Linked DNA regions of Homo sapiens: regions 2, 3, 4, 5, 6 and 7 are each linked to region 1. Evidence: promoter capture Hi-C in 16 types of primary human blood cells and fetal thymus (Javierre and others, 2016). All regions are on one chromosome and are shown on one strand. Each heading gives the region's core, a stretch centred on a gene start or on the middle of the fragment in contact. The rest is flanking DNA. Distances are from core to core; before and after follow the strand shown. Region 1 holds the start of USP38 (ubiquitin specific peptidase 38). Region 2 overlaps TMEM184C (transmembrane protein 184C). Region 3 overlaps ELF2 (E74 like ETS transcription factor 2). Region 4 holds the start of ELF2 (E74 like ETS transcription factor 2). Region 5 overlaps NDUFC1 (NADH:ubiquinone oxidoreductase subunit C1). Region 6 holds the start of RAB33B (RAB33B, member RAS oncogene family). Region 7 has its middle 5.4 kb from the start of SETD7.

Region 1 (2,828 bases), core at 247-2,746:
TTTTAAATTTACCAATATTTTTTTCTTGTCTACTTTGGAATAATCACTTCGCTGGTACTATTCAGCAATCTTCATTCGTCCTGTTAGTTTCTTAGCACAAAGATTAATTCCAAATTTCCTCCACTCCACCTCAAATCCACGATCCTTCTTAATACTTAATTCCTTCTTAATATTTTATTTTCTATATTACCTTTGTCTTCCACTGTGGCATTATTCCCAGTAAAGACAAACATCTGTGTACCTTCACCTCCTATTGGAAAAATCATTCCTGTCTCTAGCATGACTGATAGATTAATTACCTCAATTCTCTTTTATCTTCCGTATCTTCCTACGAGTCAACTTGGTCTTAAGTTCCCTTTTACTCAAGCTCCTGTCTCCTCTAAACTGCTCTTCTTAAGACTACCATAATCGACGTGTGAATATATTAGTGTAATCGTGTTTGTAACTTGGTAAAAAAACAAAACACTATTTAGCAAACTGAAGTAACAGAATTTTGTTCATTTTTCTACGGGACATTTTAAATGACCTATTTCTTTAAAGTTTTGTCTGTATTACAGGGCCTTAATGTCTAGTTTCACAACTATATTAACCAAGCCTGAAGCAGGCTACAGTTAGGCAATATTTTCCAATATAAAGACCTCTGATTAAATTCTTACTGTGAATCTTCGGAATTTGGCATGAAACAGAACAAGCATGATTGCACCTGTTCTTCCCTATTGTAAACCATCTTCGGTGTCAACATATACAATAAGTTTTGTGGTATTTCCACCTGGTTTTCTATTTTCAAAGTACCCTTGTATGACACAGGTATAAAAATATTTTGATTCTAATCTGCCATTTTCCTTACTCTCACACTTTTTTGGACGGCTTATAATTTTCGATATGGTACAAAGCTCACTAACTGGTTCTTTGCTAGAGGCCTGCTACTGATACTGATGGTCGCTAAATGCTAGGTACGCCGCCAGTATTGCTCTTACTTCAATACCGACATCGCAGGATAAAGGCAGTCACATTTAGGCGCGCAAGCGCAATTCTTGATTAATGAGCCAAGGCAGACTTCTCAATCCGAGTTTTGAGTTTTCCTTACTTTTCCCCCAAATGCTCTTTTCCTCGGATTTCACATCGATAGCACTTATTCGAGTTTTCACGAGTAACCTGACGCAGGCGGAACCGACGAAGACTAGCCGGCAAGAATCCTACAGTCGCAGCCATCTGCGCAGCGTCCGCCGGGGACGCTCCGCGCGGAAGACCGCCTGTGACTCGACACACTCTCCAGTGACGCGGCCGTCGCCGCACCTGCGCGGCGGGGCGGGAAGGAGACTCCCAGCGCCGGGGGGAAGGGAGTCTACGACTCGGGAGGGAGGTGGGGGAGCAGGGAGGGAGAGAGGGAACAAGGGAGAAGGAGAGAGGCGGACAGGCGGAGGGGCGGAGGGGCAGAGGGGCGGAGGGGCGGTCCTTCCGGAGGTTCTTAGGTCCTTCACTTCCTGTTTGCCGGCACTTCAAAATCCGGGTCAAAGGGTGTCGCTTCGGTCTCTTCTCCCCGGCTGATCCCAGCACTCTCCGTGACAGCGCCTCCTGACTCAGCCCAGGACCGGCTTCTTCTCACGACCTGCTGGAGACTGGACGCCCACACCTGACCCGGAACTCGGAGGCGTGCTTCCTCCACCCGCCGGCTAGCAGCCCCGGGCCCTGAGCTCCCGCCGACGCCGCTGGGGGGCCCGACAGGCCCCTCGGCGCTGATGCTGAGTGGGATCGAGGGCCCGGGGCGGCGGCGGAGTACGGGCCTCTGGCGCCTTAGGCCAGCCGCAGGTGTCGGTTCTTAGGCTCTCCAGGCTCGCTAGCTCCCGCCCCGGCTTGGATGGGTCTCCCTGCGCCATAAATGTGGCTGCTGAGGCGGCGGTGGCCGTGGCCCGTCGCGCTGCTGCTGCGGCGCTCCAAGTTCATCTCCGCCCCGGGGCTCTCCTGCCCCACCTCGGGGCTGCCGCCACCCGCTCCTTATCCCCTGGCCCTGGCCTTGCAGCGTGGCGACAATGGACAAGATCCTGGAGGGCCTTGTGAGTTCCTCGCATCCCCTGCCCCTCAAGCGGGTGATTGTGCGGAAGGTGGTGGAATCGGCGGAGCACTGGCTAGACGAGGCGCAGTGCGAGGCCATGTTTGACCTGACGACCCGGCTCATCCTGGAGGGCCAGGACCCTTTCCAGCGGCAGGTGGGGCACCAGGTGCTGGAGGCCTACGCACGATACCACCGGCCAGAGTTCGAGTCCTTCTTCAACAAGACCTTCGTGTTGGGCCTCCTTCATCAGGGCTACCACTCTCTGGACAGGAAGGATGTAGCCATCCTGGACTACATTCACAACGGCCTGAAGCTGATTATGAGCTGTCCGTCGGTGCTGGATCTCTTTAGCCTCCTGCAGGTAGAGGTGTTACGGATGGTGTGTGAGAGGCCGGAGCCGCAGCTCTGTGCCCGACTGAGCGACCTTCTGACCGACTTTGTGCAATGCATCCCCAAGGGGAAATTGTCCATCACGTTCTGTCAACAGCTGGTTCGAACGATAGGCCATTTCCAGTGCGTGTCCACCCAGGAAAGAGAGCTGCGGGAATATGTCTCCCAGGTGACAAAAGTGAGTAACTTGCTGCAGAACATCTGGAAGGCCGAGCCTGCCACACTACTGCCTTCCCTGCAAGAAGTTTTTGCAAGCATCTCTTCCACAGGTAAGGGTCATTATCTTTCAGAATATCTCATAAAAAATCAGTATATGTCTCTCTTGCACACACACATTCACACCATGTTTTCCTCCTGCCCTAAAAACATTCTTAAGCGAGAGCAA
Region 2 (2,828 bases), core at 118-2,617, 4.4 Mb after region 1:
ATTGGAATAGAAAAGAAAGGCAATAAGAGAATGCAACTGAAAAATCAATAGGACATGTCCACTAATGCAACCGCCCAAGGGGTTCACTTTGCCAGCCACCTAGACAGAACCGATTCATCAAGACGGGAATTGCAAAAGATAAAGAGTAATTCAGACAGAGCCAGCTGTGCGGGAGACAGGAGTTTTATTATTACTCAAATCAGTCTCCCTAGGCATTCGGGGAGCAGAGTTTTAAGGATAATTTGCTGGGTAGGGGGAAGCCAGTGAGCCATGAGTGCTGATTGGAGAGAGGTGAAATCATAGGGAGTCAAAGCTGTCCACTTATACTGAGTCAGTTCCTGGGTGGGGGCCACAAGGTGAGATGAGCCCGTTTATTGATCTGGGTGGTGCCAGCTGATTCAACAAATGCAGGGTCTGCAAAATATCACAAGCACTGATCTTAGGAGCAGTTTAGGGAGGGCCAGAATCTTGTAGCCTCCAGCTGCATGACTCCTAAACCATAATTTCTAATCTTATGGCTAATGTTAGTCCTACAAAGGCAATCTAGTCCCCAGGCAAGGAGGTTTGCTTTGGGGCAGGGCTATTTCTATAGCTTTGGGAGAAACTATAAACTAAGTTTCTCTCAAAGTTAGTTCAGCCTACGCCCAGGAATGAACAAGGACAGCTTGGAGGTTAGACACAAGATGGAGTCGGTTTAAGTTATCTCTTTCACTGTCTCAGTCATAATTTTGCAAAGGCAGTTTCACTAATAAATGAGGAATAAGGTGGAAGTTACAAGCCAAGGTAAATGGAGGTAGAGTGATCAGTGTAGACATACAACATAAGAATGGGTGCATTGCCTCCTATGCAGTACAGGACCATTTGTACAACGTCCTGACAAATTTTGTCTCTATTTACACCCTTGAAATGACAGGGAGCTACCTGGCTTTTTAAAAAAATAAGCTACTAATGTGTTCATTTGACAAATATATGTTGAGCACCAAGTACGTGCTAGTATAAAGAAATACCTTAGTGCACAGAACAGACATAGACCTCATGGAACTTAGTTTGGTTAGGAGAGTTAGGAATTAAGACACAAATATATAGTTAGTTATTTCAGGAAATGCAATGAAGGAAGAAGGACAGGAGGCCATGAGAGAATAGTAATGACAAATTAATATAGATTGGTTATCAAGGGAGACAGATTGTGCTCAACTCTGAAGGCAACAAGGACAAATGGGCATTTATAGCTAGAGCATGTTGAGGGGGTCAGCGAATGCAGAATTACGAAGAGGGGACATCAGGGCTAGGAGGATTCTCACTAAACTGAACAGAATTCTTGCTAAAGGCAGGCCAAGGCCTTAGTCATCCAAGGTGGGTGCTGAGGAATTTGATCGGATGTCAAAGGTGATCAGATATCAAAGGGGGCTGGGGAATGACTTAGCAAGATTCTTTTAGATTGACTGACACAGGACAAGGACAAGGCCCAAGGATGAAGCCAAGTTGAAAAGAGGCATCAGAGGCTTGTCTAAAGTTTGTCTAAATGAGAGTCTTTGTCAAATGAGAAACCATTTATAGGATATTATGCAGAGAACCGGTATCTAAATTTCATTTTCAAAGATTACTGTGTTTTTTTTTTGAGATGGTCTTGCTCTGTCACCCAGGCTAGAATACAGTGGCGTGATCTCAGCTCATTGCAACCTCCACCTCCCATATTCAAGCAATTCTCATGCCTCAGCCTCCCAAGTAGCTGGGATTACAGGCGTGCCCGGCTAAATTTTGTTATTTTTTTTGTAGAGACAGAGTTTTGCCATGTTGGCCAGGCTGCTCTCAAGTGATCCACCTGCCTCGGCCTCCCACAGTGCTGGGATTACAGGCGTGAGGATGGCTTGAGCCCAGGAGTTTGAGACTAGCCTGGGCAACACAGTGAAACCACATCTCTACAGAAAATTTAAAAATAGCTGGGTGTGGGGGCACACACCTACAGTCCCAGCTACTCAGGAGGATCACTTGAGCCCAGGAGGTCAAGAGTAGCCTGGGCAACATAGTGAGACTCCCATGTCTATAGAAAATAAATTAGCCAGGTGTGGTGGTATGCAGATATAGTTCCAGCTACTCAGGAGGCTGAGGTGGGAGGATCACTTGAGCCCAGGAGGTCAAGAGTAGCCTGGGCAACATAGTGAGACCCCATGTCTACAGAAAATAAATTAGCCAGGTGTGGTGGTATGCAGATACAGTTCCAGCTACTCAGGAGGCTGAGGTGGGAGGATTACTTGAGCCCAGGAGGTCAAGAGTAGCCTGGGCAACATAGTGAGACCCCATGTCTACAGAAAATAAATTAGCCAGGTGTGGTGGTATGCAGATATAGTTCCAGCTACTCAGGAGGCTGAGGTGGGAGGATCACTTGAGCACAGAAGGTCAAGGCTGCAGTAAGCCATGTTCACACCACTGCACTCCACCCTGGGCAACAGAATAAGATCCTATATCTCAAAAAATAAAAAAGGTATTTAGATAATTTGTTTCCTGCCATCCACATTCTTCTGCCACTGCTATTAAGGATGACTACATTGAAAGAATTAACTGTAAATATGGTATCATTCATCAAAGTGATTTTAATTTGGAGGCTTTGGGGAAAATCTGATGCTATTTAAATGAGTAGTTGAAATTCTAAGTTCTTTTTCTTTTGCAGAGTATTGCTGTTTAGGTGCAAACTAGGTGTATTACAGTACACAGTTGTCAGACCTTTCACCACCATCGTTGCTTTGTAAGTACTCGGATTTTATATGAACTTTTTTTTTCATCCTTGTGATCTTATGTGGGAACAACTAAGTAGAAAACATAGTGTTAAT
Region 3 (2,828 bases), core at 114-2,613, 4.1 Mb before region 1:
AATGGTTTTTAAAAAGCTCTTCTTAAGCATTTCTTTGCATCCTTTTGAACATTTTGCTATAGATGACACAAGGAATCATTTTAAACAATTATCAAACATGAGGAATTATTTTAAATAGTTATCAAGAACATTCTGCTGCCTGCCCTTCTCCACCAACCAAATTTGTTTCTAAAATAGTTTTATGTTGAATGATTCTGATTGGCTATTTACACACTGACTGATGTGACCATGTAACTCAGTTTTTACATGAATTTTAGTACCAATGCTGCAATGAATTGTGAAGGGTAATTTCTTAAATTCATTTTCAAATGAGCTTTTTAAAAAGAAAACTAGTGTCATTCCTTGAGTTTCATTTTAATGTATCTATTCACATACTGCTTTTAACTTCTTTTCATACTGCTAATTTTTTTTCAATTTGATCTTTTCAAGATTGAGACTACATATTCCAATTTATAGTAAATCAGAAATGAGATTTTCAATTTCATAATGAACTTTAATAAAATAGATTTGTTTTCTGTCAGTGAAAATATTTAGGCTAAATTTCCAGAAAAATTTCACCTTCATTTAATAACTGCATTGTTGACCAAAACTTCTGATTACCTTATTTCGCAAATGTAAAAATAAAATAAAATAAGAAAAGACAAATAAAGGAAAAAGTCAAGAAAGGTATACTTGAGAATAAGGCAGAAATCTTCCAGAAAATCCAGACTGTTCATACACAATACTTTAACATAAATATTAGGAAAGTAACAATGCTAGACATTTGTTTTTCCTATATTAAGCTATATACACTAGAAATGAGCCTAAATTATTAATTAGACTATATTACAGACTTAAACATATAAAGAGCCTCAAGTTCCAATTTGGCACACATTTTTATTTTCAAAGACTGGATAAAAGAAGTTAACCTACCAATTACATAACGAACTTATAGACATATTCATTCACATGGTGTAATATTAGAAAAAAAAAAAAAAACCCAAGGAGAAGCCCTACCTTTCCATTAAGTATTTCCAAGCCACTTATTTTAGAGCTTTAAAAGTCATTAGCAATCATCTAGTCAACCCTGTCTTCTTAGAGAAAAATGAAGCCCTAAAGATGTTAAGTCACTAGCTAGTTTAGTGACAGCTAGATATAGATCCTCAACTCTTCAGGGTCAAGGCTCGTTCTCATACATCATATTGTCCATGAAATTTTAAAGTACGTCGAGTCTTTACTACAAACATACTTTGTAAAATGACAGTGAGTTTTAATAAATAAGCTTATTTATTTCATCCTTTACTCAAACTCCTCTGGCAGCATAAATGTTTATAGCTAAAGGAATGCACATGTGATACTTAACACCTCAAAAGGAAGAAAAGCAAAAGTATATTCGAGCTTAACATGTACCTTAACATGTAGCGACAGTGATAATATTAAGTGTTATATACTTGCTTAGAAACATGTTATGCTGAAAATATTAACCTAAAGCTTATCTCCTCTAGAAGTTGTATAAATATCATTCTACACTAATCATCAACCCATTATAGCAATCACTGGAACTATTTTTTACATTTATACATTATATAGATTTTCACCTGTCTCCCCAGACTGTAAAATCTTTGTGAGGAAGAATTCTCTGTCACACCTGATGACCTCCCTCAAGGAGATAAAAAGGTATTCTGTCCATTACACAAATACAAACTTTAGAAACATTATCCTACCAATGCTATTGAAAATTGGCAGCAATAAAAATTTAGAATCATGATTCCTAATCTTCTGGGCCATCTTTCCTCCCTAACTTTTAACACACTGAATAAACCTTGGGTAAAAGAGCAAACCTCTCTCAAGTTTCCTTCTAAAATAAGGCTTGTAAGGGAGCTTCAGATTACATGAACATAATTGGTGACATAACTTGAAAATAACTGTATGTAAAACATATTCTTTACAGAACATTATTATCATAAACTTTAAGATTCGTATATAGTACAGAAATGCAGTAGAGCTGGAAAACAGCACTTTTTAAAACCCCTTATCAAAAGACAAAACTTTTGTCTTTTCAAACCAAAGACAGTCTTTTATATACACACATATATACTCCAAGGAGAATACCTACAGGCCATATTCAGTTTCACCGGTAATTCCAAAAGCTTACGAAAAAATAGTTTCCAATGGCAAAGTGAAGCCCTCCTACCTTTACAGTATTTTTCAAAGTTTTGATGCAAAGGCATTCTAAGGTTCTTTCCGTGTGTTCGCAGCCACTGGAAACAACATCTCTTGAACTGTACATATTCAATATTCACAGAAATATCATTGACCCAACAACTTCACGTATCGTTAGTACCAATAATATAAAGCCAAAAATTCCATCCCTTAATTCATATTGTAGTAATGGACAATATATACAAAGGAATCAAGTTCTCATTGTGCTCTCTTACTAAACTTAAGTTCTTGTTCTGACCAGAAAGCAACTGTCAAACAGATGTGTTTTAATCACTACTCAGTAAACTGCATTTTCCTTTGGAACCTCTGAAACACATATTTTTACATTTTATAGAATAAAAGACTGGTCACCACTGTGTTGTACTCAATACATACATATTATTTCAGACTTTGAACCTAGAGCGCTTCCGTTAAATTTTGATACATGTGTTCATGATTTCCCCCATCGAACTGAGTCACAGAGTTTTGCCAAGCAAACTACTAATTTCAAGTCCCTTACCTAAAAACAATGGATGGAAGACTGTTAAGATCTTTTACAGAATTACTGTTCCCTGAGTATTTCTCATCGTCCACTTCCCATCCATGGCAATATGAAATAGGAACCGGGAAGAGGAACATGTATGCTT
Region 4 (2,828 bases), core at 128-2,627, 4.0 Mb before region 1:
GTACTAAACTTAAAGGCTATTCTGCAGCGAATCTGCCTCCTAGAAAGAGTCCATCCAGGATGCTGGCAGAGGGAAAAAGATTAGAAACTGTGCGATCTGGATTATTCTTGGTGTCACGGAATATTTTTTGAGTCCTTTATGGACATGGAATAAAAATGCCCAAATGGAGCAGAAGAGAGGGCTCGGCTACCCTGATCACAAAGCTCCTGGGGTAGAGTCAGCATCCAGCCCTGGCAGAGCCCTCCCTGTCCTCCTTCCGCGCCCCTAGACCATCCCGTCGCGCGGTCCCTGAGGACCAGCTTCGCGAGGATCCAGAAGGCGGTCACTGGACGTGCCTGTTACGAGCCCGTTTTTGTTTTGCTTAAGAAACAGATTCCGATCCGAGCAAAGCCTCCCTACCTCCCGGGGAATAGGGGGAGATGGCAGCACGGTGCCGGCGTGGAGAGCGAGAATAAAAGAACTGCCGAGTACAACCTGTCGTGCAAGCTAGCAGCGCCGGGAAGGAAAGGTAAGCGGCGGCGATAAGGCACGACAGGGAAGGAAACTGGTGTCCAGCGCCCCCCCCCGCCTGCCCGCCACCCAGAGCGGCCGGAGCCTCCCAGGTCCCGCCCCGAGCTCGCCGCCCAGCCCCGGCGCCGGCCGCAGACTCCCGCCCTACACAAACCCTCCCAGGACGCGCTTCCTCCGGAGCCGGACCCCCGCCCTGGCCTCCCCGCGGGATGAGGCGGGTCAGTTCAGTCCGCTTCTCGGCAGAGGTGACTCGCGCAGAGATGTAAACACGGAGAGACCAGCTGCGCTCGGCCCATCCCCCCCGCCGGGGTCTGTAACCTCTTCCCTCAGCCCTGCCCCGCGCCCCGCGCTCCCCGCGGGCAGGCGCGCAGCGCGCCTTCCCCTTTCTCCAAGTCCCGCTCCGCGACCGTTGCCTGGGGACACTCAGCCCCCTTCCCCCAGCCCCCGGCCGGTGTCACCGCCGCAGCCGCCGGAAAACCCCTCCGCAAACCCCGAAGCAAACAACACAAGCGCGGGGCGGGGGCGCGGAGGGAGGCGGCGGCAGTCGGGACAGCCAGGCTTTATCGCCGCGCCCTTCGCGCTCCCTCTCACCAGCCTCGGCTGCCCGCGCTCTTACCTGCTCTCCGCGACGCCTGGGAAGACCGCGGCGTCCTTTTCCCTCTCAGCAGGGCCGCGGACTAGCCGCCGCCGTTGGCCGAGCGTCCGGAGGGAGCCGGGGCCTCCCCAGCAGCCCGAGCCGCTCCACAGGGAGAGAAGGAGACAAAACAGAGGCTCGCCGCCCCGCGCAGCGACCCCCGCCCGCGCCGCCCCACCGACCCCCAACCGCCTAGGCGACGGCGGCGACACAGAGCTTGGCGCTGGGAGCAATGGTTGCCCCCGCCCCGCTCCGCTCCCGGCCCCCTCCCTCCACCCCCCGCCTCGGCTCCTCCCCCTCGGCCTCCTGCCGCCTCCACCAGGACACTGGAGTCCGCCTCCCCCTCCCCGCCAGCTCAGAGTGCTCCTCCCCTCCCCACGCGGCGGGGGGGCGGGGGCGGCACCGCCAGTCACCGCAGCGCCTGTCAAACGCGGGCCGGCTATTTATACCCCGCGGGGCCCCGCCGCCCTCGGGCCCCCACCAGCCCGCCGAACCTGCTTCTTTTGCTGTCTTGAATCCCGCCCTCTTCTCCTCGCCCAACTTCTCCCAAACCCGCCTTCCCAGGTAAAGACGCTCGTCACTTGTCCGGCTCCTTGCCCAGGGCTCCCCGATCTCGCTCTCCACTCCAGCCCCGGATTGGTGCAGGGGGCTCTGCCGCACGGGGCAGGCGTGTGAGGCCGATGGGGCCGCGCGTGCACCTGCAGCGCCCGCCGGCTTTCCCCCGCCGGCCGGGACCGCACGCACACACCCTCGCCACTCAGGGCCCCCGCAGGCCCCGCCGTCACCGCATCCCCAACTCAGGACTCTCGCCCTTCTCCGGAGACGGCCCCACAGTCGGGCAGTCTGACAGTTACAGGGGGGCGAGGTTTTGCAAAAACTCCTAGCCCGGTCTTTCCAGTTCCCACTCCTCAGCCTTGGCTTAGTGAAAGGTGGGGGTTCGGGCAGGAGCGCGACGCCGGCCCCGCCCCGGCCGGTGACGCACGTGGCGCACCGCCCCGCCAGCCTCGCGCCCCTCGGCGCCGCCAGCTCCTCCTCCCCGCTAGCAAAAGCCGGGCGTAGTACACCCGCGACCCCGCCCCATTCCCAGAAATTACCACCCGCCCAACAGCCCGGCCGCGCGGCGGTTGGTGCCGGCGTTTGCTGGCTGTCGGGTGGCTGGGCCCAGCGCGCAGCTGCGGAGCGCGGCGGGCGGCCCCTTGGAGCTGCCCGGGGAGCTGCGGGCACTCGCACCTAGCCATTGTCGCTCCTTGCGCGGTCCGCAACGGAGAAGTAACTCAAGTCTGAGTGTTGTTGGTGCGAGAATGAGAGAGTGTTCTGGTGTGGGAGTATTTTGGCCCAAGTGCCTGCGAATTCGAAAACGAAAACCCAGCAGTGGCTGCACGCTTCTGGTTTCCACACTTTCACACAAAGGGGAGCCTTCGAGCGGGGCACTCTCACGCGCCTTCAAGTGCACAAAAGCCAATGACACGGTGCCGTGGGTTGCCCTGTGTAGGAGCGTCTCTTTAATGGGCTTTGTAGGCACAGTTAATGCATACAAACGCCTCAGTCTATTTCTTCACCACCACCATTCCCCGCCGCGGCGTTTTCTGTATTTGTTTCTTTAACAAAGAGCACAGCCTGTCCGGTGCGCGCGGGGCTCCTTTTGCTCCCCTCCAGGGCTCCTGCAGCCTCGCCGCGATGGACC
Region 5 (2,828 bases), core at 241-2,740, 3.9 Mb before region 1:
CTGTCTGACAGAATATGCAACTGGAAAAATGGCTTATATACGATGACATTCATGGCAATCAAAGATCCAAGTTCAATCACTAGTGCTCTCAGCAGTAATTAAGCTTCTTGTTAGAGAAAACCTTAAATTAAGAATGTATAAAATTCATTATAAGCAACATTATTCAAAAAGATGAGTTACTATTAAGTTGTAAGTGACTCAAAATCTCTCACCCCTTTCCAAGTCAAAAATCTGAACCACTTCAACAAGAAAATTTAAAATATCTTAGAGCTGGGGGACAGTGGAGGAAGTCCCAAACCCATTAGATAAAAAACAAAATTTTAAATATTAATATAGCAGATACTTTAACTTTAAAAAGAAATTTTATCCCAACAGAGGCAGTGTTTCACAGTCTTTTCTAGGATAGTGTGGCCTCTGAAGTCAGGAGAACTGGGTTCAGCAAACTAGTTTCTCCAAGTGTTTCTTATCTGTAACGGGTCAACAATAGTAGGTGCCACGTAGTGTTGTTGAAATGATTAAACGCAAGTTTATGTGTAAAGCATGTGGTGTGAATTTTTTTTTTTTTTTTTTTTTTTTTTTTTGAGACAGAGTCTCGCTGTATCTCCCAGGCTGGAGTGCGGTAGCACGATCTCGGCTCACTGCAAGCTCCACCTCCCGGGTTCACACCATTCTGCTGTCTCAGCCTCCTGAACAGCTGGGACTACAGGCGCCCTTCGCTACACCTGGCTAATTTTTTTTGTATTTTTGGTAGAGACGAGGTTTCACTGTGTTAGCCAGGATGGTCTGGATCTCTTGACCTCGTGATCCGCCCACCTTGGCCTCCCAAAGTGCTGGGATTACAGGTGTGAGCCACCACGTCCGGCCTGAAAATTTTTTTAAAAAGGTCGCTACACACTATGTACAATTTCCAACAATGTATTTATACAAACATTGATTAAAACCTAATGGAAGTCTACTGGGATTCAATTTGTACAACTTGCACACTGCTGGTTTGTCCTTACAGCATCTGAAAAAGGTACCTTCATAAAACTCCAATTAGCCTCAATTCTCATTAAGAAATAAAGTATAATTACTATTGCCGGGCGTGGTGGCTCACGCCTGTAATCAGAACACTTTGGGAGGCCGAGGCGGGCGGATCAATAGGTCAGGAGATCGAGACCATCCTGGCTAATACGGTGAAACCCCGTCTCTACCAACAATACAAAAATTAGCCGGGCGTGGTGGCGGGCGCCTGTAGTCCTAGCTACTTGGGAGGCTGAGGCAGGAGAATGGCGTGAACCCGCGAGGCAGAGCTTTCAGTGAGCCGAGATCACGCCACTGCACTCCAGCCTGGGAGACAGAGTGAGACTCCATCTCAAAAAAAAAAAAAAAAAGTATAATTACTATTTAGTAAAACTGCCATTCCTTACAAAACCATGTTAAGGAACAATAACAGAAATTTTAGTCCCATCATACTTTTTCAATGTTGCTGAAATCTTAATTTCTTTTTAGTCCTTGGGATTTCTCTTATGGAAAAATACGTATCAGCGATTATATAAATATCCTACTGTTATGAGAGTTTCACTGCCATACAACATATAACAGCACCATTCAATCTCGCAATGTTATGTCATTCCCTTACCACGCTGGTGTAGTCTCACGACATCCGGGAGTAAAGTACTTACATAGATCCACAAGAAGACAGTGGTGCCCAAGGTGAACCCAACTTTCAGCCAGTCAGGTTTGGCATTCGGCGGCTCTCGCACGTAGAACTTTGATCGCACTGAAGCTGAAAGGGGAAGAGGGTCTGTAAATTTGTAACTTACTGCCTTGTAGGGAAAAAACCCTAACATTTACGTGCGTATTATCGCATTTAATTCTCCCTTCAACTCCCCCATCTCCCACTTAAACAGCCAAGGAAATAGAGGTTCAAAGAGATCAAGTACCTCGCCCAGGGCCACTGGCGAGTTAGACAGGACGCACCTGTCCTGTCCGAGGCTTTCAAAGCCTCGTTTAAGGGCTTGCGGACCCTCAGACGACTCGGGAGTGGTCATGTAAGGGGCGCCCCGGGGAGGGTGTCTCCTCTCCCGGTTTACGGGACCTAACGTACAGAGGTGGGGAAGGCAAGGACCCAAAGTCCATTTACAAAGGCCAAGAGTGGTCAGGTTGAACTTGGATAAGTGCTAGAGGCGGGTGATGGGGAGCAGAGAGCCCTGCGTAGGGGACAGGCGTGGGCTGGGCCTTGGGTCGTCTGCCGGCGAAGGTCACTGCAGGACGAACCCGGGCCGCTGCCGCCTCCTGCACCCGTGGGCTGGGTCCGCCTTAGGAGGGGTAATCTGAGGGTCGAGTCGGCCTGCACGAGGAGGATACTCACGGCCGCTCGGGAGCCTGGCGGGGGCCAGCAGCCGGGAAAGGGGACGCAGCAAGGCGGACGGCGCCATCTTGCGTGGCCCAGCTCAGTCTCTCCGAGTTGGCAACAGAACCAGCGCCACCTGGCGGCCGGAAGTGCGGGACTCGAGGGCTCTGCAGCAGAGCTCCGTGGGGGCGTCAACGTGAATTCCAGCACGGCAAGGTTCTCTAGCACCCCGGCCTCAGCCTTCTGTCTATACAGTGGAATTAGGAAGAAAATAATTAAAAGAAAAAAGAGTTTACCTATTCTCTGTCCTCTGGGGGTTTTTCACCCCATCTCTACGGCTATTCATCAAGAGGTTTATTAAAATTTTCCTACATGAGCCAGAAGAAAGAAAAGTGTCGTGCTGAATAATAACTAGCATTTGGATTGAATTCTGTGGTCCAGGCACGGTGCATTAATGTATCATATGGTTTACATTCATTGTCTTATTTCATCT
Region 6 (2,828 bases), core at 239-2,738, 3.7 Mb before region 1:
AACTAAAAAGTCCAGAATACAAAAAACAGGGATGCAATGATGTTAGTTTTTTTCACCATCCTTGAAATTCTCCCATTAACCACAGCTCTGAGTTTTCAACTGCTCTTTGTCCTTAAATCTTCAGATTCCCTCCTTTGAATGGGATAGGTAGAGCAGATTAGAAGAAATATATTCCGAGGCTCTCTAATAGTTTCTGGATGATTAACCTTCATGAAAATAACCTCACAGATAAGTAATTAGGATTTTTCAGCCCATTTCTATAAACTAAGTAAACTTTTTTTCTAGTGAACATAACTTGATATATTAGTGACTGTAGAAAGTCTTTCTACAGCAACAGGAATTATATCAAGGCTTTTGCAAATTCCTGGCAACTCCGGGCATGTTTAAGTTCTACTACTCATCTGTTCTGACTATATTTTCATCTGATGGAATAAGCAGTTCATCTCCTTTCCTAGAACTTTTAGTGCTCTACTGTCCCCCTCACTTTAGTTAAGGTCTGCCATGTCCTCCTCTCCGACAGTCCTTGACTTTCCCAATGGCATATTCATCTGCTCAAACAGATGTCACTGCAAAACAAAACAAACTTTTAACAAAAAGCAATGTTTGCATATTTGGGGCCTTTTGTATGACAATATTGCACGTTTCCTCAGAAAAATTCACGGAGATTCTTTAAGGTTGGGGGTTTAATCTATTGATATTTTCCTTAGGTAGACAAAGACAACCTCTAAGTGCGCTCAGTTAATCTTTAACCGCTACATCATCGTCACCCAGGCACTAAGACATAACTAGGGCATAATGAGTTTTATTTCCACCAGGGGCGCCTAGTAACTACCAGGTTCAACGCTCCCAGGTGGCCGACATGTGATGTGCTCTACTGTTTGGGCTGGGGATATTAGCTCAACAAACTCTGGCCACAAGGATCACGCGGATATTCTTGGGGATGCCTAGCGAAATGCGCTGTACCTAGGCCTCGAACTCTCGCCTGCTCTCCGGTGGGCGGTCTCGAACTCCAGCCTGCTCTCCGGCAGCCCACAGCAATGCGCCTGCCAAGACCTTAGGCTGCAAAACTCGCCACGGCCCAGAGCTCGCCTCCAAGTGCGCCCCGCACAGGGCAAGCTTTCGGCGAGGACTCGCGTCCCACCCATCTAGCCCTGGCCGCTGTCCCAACTCCCGCAGTTCACAGAGGCGGCGGCGGTGAGCGCAGCCGATGCCACATCCTCAGCGGCAAGCTGAAGAAACCTGTCTCCTCTCTGGGGCGACCAAACGATACGTCGATGCCGGAACCGACCCGACGCCGGAGCCGTCGGCTCCGTCCTTACCGTTGCTCTCCAGGTACACGCCCCCGTCAAAGGCGGCTCTGCGGCCCTCTCGCGAGAGAGTGCCCGTGGTACCTCCTTCCTCTCAGTTGTCTGTCTCTCCCCGCCCCCGGAGTGATTGCGCGGCTTCCTCCAGAGGGCGGGAACCTTGGACGTGGCGGGGCTGGGTCAGTCAGGGCGCTGGGCCCAGCCTCTCTGCAGGCTGGCCTTCCGCGCTGCCGTGAAGCCCCCGACAGGTCCCACGCCTGCCTAGGTAGACCGGCGCCAGCCCGAGTGACGCCTGGCGTGTGGCCGCGGGCAGGCGGCTCCGTGCGGCGGGGCGGGCGGGTGCCACACCTGTGCGGGCAAGGGCGGGGCGGGAAGGTGCGCAGGCGCGCTCGGGGCTGGTGGGCGGTGGCTCCTGGGAAGTTGCGCAGCCGAACTGGCCGGCTGGGCGCGCGCTCTTGCGGTGGCGTAATCTCTCAGCCTTTCTGTGTCTCCTTTCCTCCGCCTCAGTTTGGGGCGGGTCGGGGGAATGGCTGAGGAGATGGAGTCGTCGCTCGAGGCAAGCTTTTCGTCCAGCGGGGCAGTGTCAGGGGCCTCAGGGTTTTTGCCTCCTGCCCGCTCCCGCATCTTCAAGATAATCGTGATCGGCGACTCCAATGTGGGCAAGACATGCCTGACCTACCGCTTCTGCGCTGGCCGCTTCCCCGACCGCACCGAGGCCACGATAGGGGTGGATTTCCGAGAACGAGCGGTGGAGATTGATGGGGAGCGCATCAAGGTGAGCGGATGGGGAACTGTTGGGGAGGACAGGGTGACAGGTGTCCCAACCCCACCGTGGGCTGGTCGCTGGCCGTGTGCACGGTGTGTGTGCGCTCCATTTTTTTCTCACGCTGATGAGATTGGAGTTGGGGATTGGAAGGATTGCAATACTGCAAACTTCTAAGGCAGCGTTTCTCAGACTTCATTGTGCATGCGATTTACCTGGGGATCTTGTTTTTGAAAATGCAGGCTATGATTTAATAATCTCGCTGATGATGCAGGTGCAGCTAGTCCGTGGACCACACTTTGAGTTCAGGAGTGTAGGGCTTATCTACCGACCCATTTACTGTGTGTGTCGTGTGCTGGGAGTCAGTCAAATATGAACGGAGGAAAAACAGTGAAATTGCGCGAGAATGGAAAATTCATTTAATCAGTAATAGTTATTAAACATTCATTCGAGCAGTGCCTTAGATGTTGTGGAAGTAAAGCCTATTGCCTTTGAGGAAGTACTTAGGTATTCTCTTGCATACAGTTTTGCTGTAGTAGTTTCTTTATGATACTGATTTTAGAAAAATCTATTTTCCTGCAGAAACATTCTATATGTGATAGTTCCTACTCAGGTTGCCAAAAGCATTTCTCATGATGCCACCTCAGACACACGCCCAATTCTTTATTCCCTTTAAGTCGTTATTTTTGGTCCCTGGGACTGGGGACACTGAGTGACAGTAATAGTGGAGAAGGTAGTATAGGCCCCAGGGCAGGTTTGAA
Region 7 (2,828 bases), core at 128-2,627, 3.6 Mb before region 1:
AAGAACTAGCCAAGCAACTGGGCAATTCAGTTCTGCGGGGGCCGGGGGGGGGGCCTTCGTTTTCCCATCTGTAAATGAAGAGTTGGGCTACATAAATTCGAAGCTCAAACCTTCTCTGTCCACCTTTTCTGGAGAAAAGGTAAATAGAGCCTGAGAAGCCCCAGGAAAAGGCACATAAAAAGGAAATGGGAAGAAGCCAGGGCAACTCCAACAAACTGAATACTCAAGTCCTCTCACGTTAATGGCTCTATCTGGGCAGGCAGGTGAGGGGAGAACCTTTATCTTGACTCTAGGGAGGGAAGCATGGAAGTTTTAGGAGAACCAAGGTTCCTGGGTTCTGAATCACTGAGTCACTAATCAAGTGGCTAACTGTGTTAGTGACAACTGCAGAAGCTGGAGGGAGGGGCTGGGAGAGGAGCAGCGAGGAGGAGACGGGTGGGGGAGGAGATGGGGATGAAAGGGAAGCGTTTGCAGCTTGTGGAGCACTGGGAAGAGCAGGGACATCAAGGGCACCAAATAAAGGTCCAGGGAGCAAAGAAAGAAATGGAGAAAATTCATTCTGCTGGAAATAGACATGAGTGCAGTCAGGAAGAAGACTTACAGATTCAGGGTGACCTGATTTGATTACAGCAACAGGAAGTGCAAGAGAGAGAGGGCAGAATAACCTGACCTAAGGAAGTGAATTAAATAATAGAGAAGACACCACAGTTGCCATGGTATTAAAATACCTCATGCCACATTAAGCTTCCTCTTTCTCTTTTGCTTGATTCTTGTTTTTGCAACATGTTAATGTTGCAATGACATGTTAATGTCATTGCAGGGTATCCAGTAAACTAAATTTAGACTTTCTGGGGCGGGGAGGGGAGGGAAGATGCAGCCCAGATCTCCCTGTTTGGGTCGACTCTGGGCCAATATTGTTCCTTCACAGAGTTCTTGGGGTTTTTTGCATTATGGGATATGAAAACTCTTATGTCAGGCTTGGGCCTAGTGAAGCTGCTGAGTGAAATGATTGAAAAAAAAAAAATGAGGCCAGGCACGGTGGGTCACGCCTGTAATTCCAGCGCTTTGGGAGACAGAGGCAGGTGGATCACCTGAGGTCAGGAGTTCATGACCAGCCTGGCCAACATGGTGAAACCCTGTCTCTACTAAAAATACAAAAATTACAAAAATACAAAAACTGGTGGTGCATGCCTGTAGTCCCAGCTACTTGGGAGGCTGAGGAAGGAGAATCACTTGAACCTGGGAGGCGGAGGCTGCAATGAGCCGAGATGGCATCACTGCACTGCACTCCAGCCTGGGCCACGGAGTGAGACTCCATCTCAAAAAAACAAACAACAACAAAAAAAACCCTCACACACACACACACACACACAAAGAAAAATTGGAAATAGTTTTCAAAGGGGCATCTGTTTTAGAAATTACTTTAGAAAAACAATAGGATTGCAGAAACTTGAAAAATAAAGACAAACCGCCACCAAAACCAAATGTGTTTTCATAGATATTATTTTCTCTAATTGTTTTTGAAAAATTACTTTACTAGGCTAAAATTAAGATTATTGAGTCCTGCAATTGGTCCTCTGCAAAAGTAGACATTGCAGAGGGCAGGTACATGGTATACTCTTTTGACACTACAATATCCAGGATGGGCAGAGGAGTATTTCCAGCTGACCTATTTACCACAAATGTCATAACATTCATCAAGGGTCAGCTCTTGACCTTCCTCAAGTGGACTCACATTAACTAGACCCCGAGAGACTGAGATGTATGCCTGAATTATGATGGACAGATCAGAATACTCACACTGTCAGGGCAAAAGATCTCTCTATATAAATAAATGCACTTGAGAAGACAAATTCCATCCAAAAGTTTGCTTAGTTATCTGGAGTAGAATGAAGGACATTAGTTGTGTGGTCCACAAGACAAATACTCTGATACAGTGTTCTGAAAGAATGAGGCTGCCCACCCATCCCACTCACCTCTGCTTAGATGGGCCCTATGGCTTCTGAGGCTTCAAGCTTCTTTCTCCGTGCTCTAGTTTCTCCAAACCTGATTCTCCACACAGCGTCCTATACAGCCCATTAGGCAGATTTACACTTTCTAAGTCATAATGACATTCTCTATCTTCCTGGCATTACAGCCAAGTCACTTTAATGGGAATTTGAGGTAATCCTCAAACTTCTCAGTCACAAATTGAGTCACTCTCTTGGTTTATGCCCACTGAATTCTAGTCAAAACCATTGAGTGTGCAGATTTTGGTAGTCAAACTTTCTGAGAGCAACCTGGTTCTCAAGTTCTTGGGAAAGCACCTCATTTCTGCTTCACAAGCCATCAACAGTGGGCCAACCTTCTTAGGCTACCATGATTTCTGAGAAAGAGACCAGAGACATATTAAGACCCACGTGGCCTGTCCTGTGATACAGTCATCCAAGTTTTCCTGGGCACTCAGCTCAAAGATATTTCTATTCTGTGCAGGAGTGGAGAGGTTGGCTCTTTGCTATGATAGCTTAGGCAACGGAACGCCACCTTGAGGATGCAGATTCCATCTACTATAACATAGATGGAGGGCAAAGTGTCCTCTTCATTTTCCAAATGGGACTGTCTGGCTTTGAATCCAATATCCAGAAATGAAAATACCCATGTGGTCCTCTTCACTCAGTCACAAACAAAGACAGGTTGATTAGAGTGTTTCTGGGACCTGGCACTGAAATGACAACCCTCGATCTACAGGCAGCCCTCACCCGGAGGTGCTTGATGCTAAGCCAGCCCTTCCTGTATGTATTTGCTGGAGACCTGTCTTGCAGCCTCTTTGGATCTGGCGTGTCCTTTCA

Evidence for each region. The method cuts DNA at HindIII sites, captures the fragments that hold promoters and counts their contacts. A CHiCAGO score of 5 or more calls a contact.
Region 2: a fragment that was not itself captured here is called in contact with the fragment with the promoter of USP38 in region 1 in 1 of 17 cell types (naive CD8 T cells); the score reaches 5.2 in naive CD8 T cells.
Region 3: a fragment that was not itself captured here is called in contact with the fragment with the promoter of USP38 in region 1 in 1 of 17 cell types (non-activated CD4 T cells); the score reaches 5.7 in non-activated CD4 T cells.
Region 4: the fragment with the promoter of ELF2 here is called in contact with the fragment with the promoter of USP38 in region 1 in 1 of 17 cell types (non-activated CD4 T cells); the score reaches 6.0 in non-activated CD4 T cells.
Region 5: a fragment that was not itself captured here is called in contact with the fragment with the promoter of USP38 in region 1 in 1 of 17 cell types (non-activated CD4 T cells); the score reaches 8.0 in non-activated CD4 T cells.
Region 6: a contact is called between a fragment that was not itself captured here and the fragment with the promoter of USP38 in region 1, in 2 of 17 cell types (activated CD4 T cells and total B cells). The highest score is 7.2, in activated CD4 T cells.
Region 7: a fragment that was not itself captured here is called in contact with the fragment with the promoter of USP38 in region 1 in 1 of 17 cell types (total B cells); the score reaches 10.4 in total B cells.

What each region holds. Positions count from the first base shown.
Region 1 is chr4:143,183,421-143,186,248 of GRCh38, forward strand. USP38 (ubiquitin specific peptidase 38) reads left to right here and starts at 1,497. Exons shown (of 10, transcript NM_032557.6): 1 at 1,497-2,712. The coding sequence starts at 2,031. USP38-DT (USP38 divergent transcript) reads right to left here and starts at 1,441. Exons shown (of 4, transcript NR_185979.1): 1 at 1,088-1,441. RefSeq lists enhancers at 547-1,432, 1,433-2,317 and silencers at 1,369-1,418, 1,639-1,888. The HindIII fragment of the contact is 4,447 bases long and covers 1-2,828 here.
Region 2 is chr4:147,625,693-147,628,520 of GRCh38, forward strand. It overlaps TMEM184C (transmembrane protein 184C), which reads left to right. Exons shown (of 10, transcript NM_018241.3): 5 at 2,669-2,743. Among named protein-coding and RNA genes, the nearest start is that of TMEM184C, 9.7 kb to the left of the region's middle. The HindIII fragment of the contact is 4,389 bases long and covers 1-2,828 here.
Region 3 is chr4:139,079,981-139,082,808 of GRCh38, forward strand. All of the region lies in intron 4 of ELF2 (E74 like ETS transcription factor 2), which reads right to left. Among named protein-coding and RNA genes, the nearest start is that of NOCT, 66 kb to the left of the region's middle. The HindIII fragment of the contact is 209 bases long and covers 1,260-1,468 here.
Region 4 is chr4:139,175,841-139,178,668 of GRCh38, forward strand. ELF2 (E74 like ETS transcription factor 2) reads right to left here and starts at 1,378. Exons shown (of 10, transcript NM_001331036.3): 1 at 1,127-1,378. LOC105379412 (a long non-coding RNA gene) reads left to right here and starts at 315. Exons shown (of 4, transcript XR_007058273.1): 1 at 315-508. RefSeq lists an enhancer at 349-398, silencers at 999-1,958, 1,969-2,348 and a cis regulatory region at 2,715-2,828. The HindIII fragment of the contact is 9,266 bases long and covers 1-2,828 here.
Region 5 is chr4:139,293,379-139,296,206 of GRCh38, forward strand. It overlaps NDUFC1 (NADH:ubiquinone oxidoreductase subunit C1), which reads right to left. Exons shown (of 6, transcript NM_001184989.2): 3 at 2,354-2,582; 4 at 1,665-1,768. The coding sequence starts at 2,420. Among named protein-coding and RNA genes, the nearest start is that of NAA15, 6.7 kb to the right of the region's middle. RefSeq lists an enhancer at 2,213-2,776. The HindIII fragment of the contact is 2,778 bases long and covers 102-2,828 here.
Region 6 is chr4:139,452,366-139,455,193 of GRCh38, forward strand. It overlaps RAB33B (RAB33B, member RAS oncogene family), which reads left to right and starts at 1,756. Exons shown (of 2, transcript NM_031296.3): 1 at 1,756-2,079. The coding sequence starts at 1,831. It overlaps RAB33B-AS1 (RAB33B antisense RNA 1), which reads right to left and starts at 1,676. Exons shown (of 1, transcript NR_159964.1): 1 at 1-1,676. RefSeq lists enhancers at 1,044-1,383, 2,004-2,053 and a silencer at 1,454-1,783. The HindIII fragment of the contact is 749 bases long and covers 1,115-1,863 here.
Region 7 is chr4:139,560,182-139,563,009 of GRCh38, forward strand. No RefSeq gene overlaps it. Among named protein-coding and RNA genes, the nearest start is that of SETD7, 5.4 kb to the left of the region's middle. The HindIII fragment of the contact is 1,271 bases long and covers 743-2,013 here.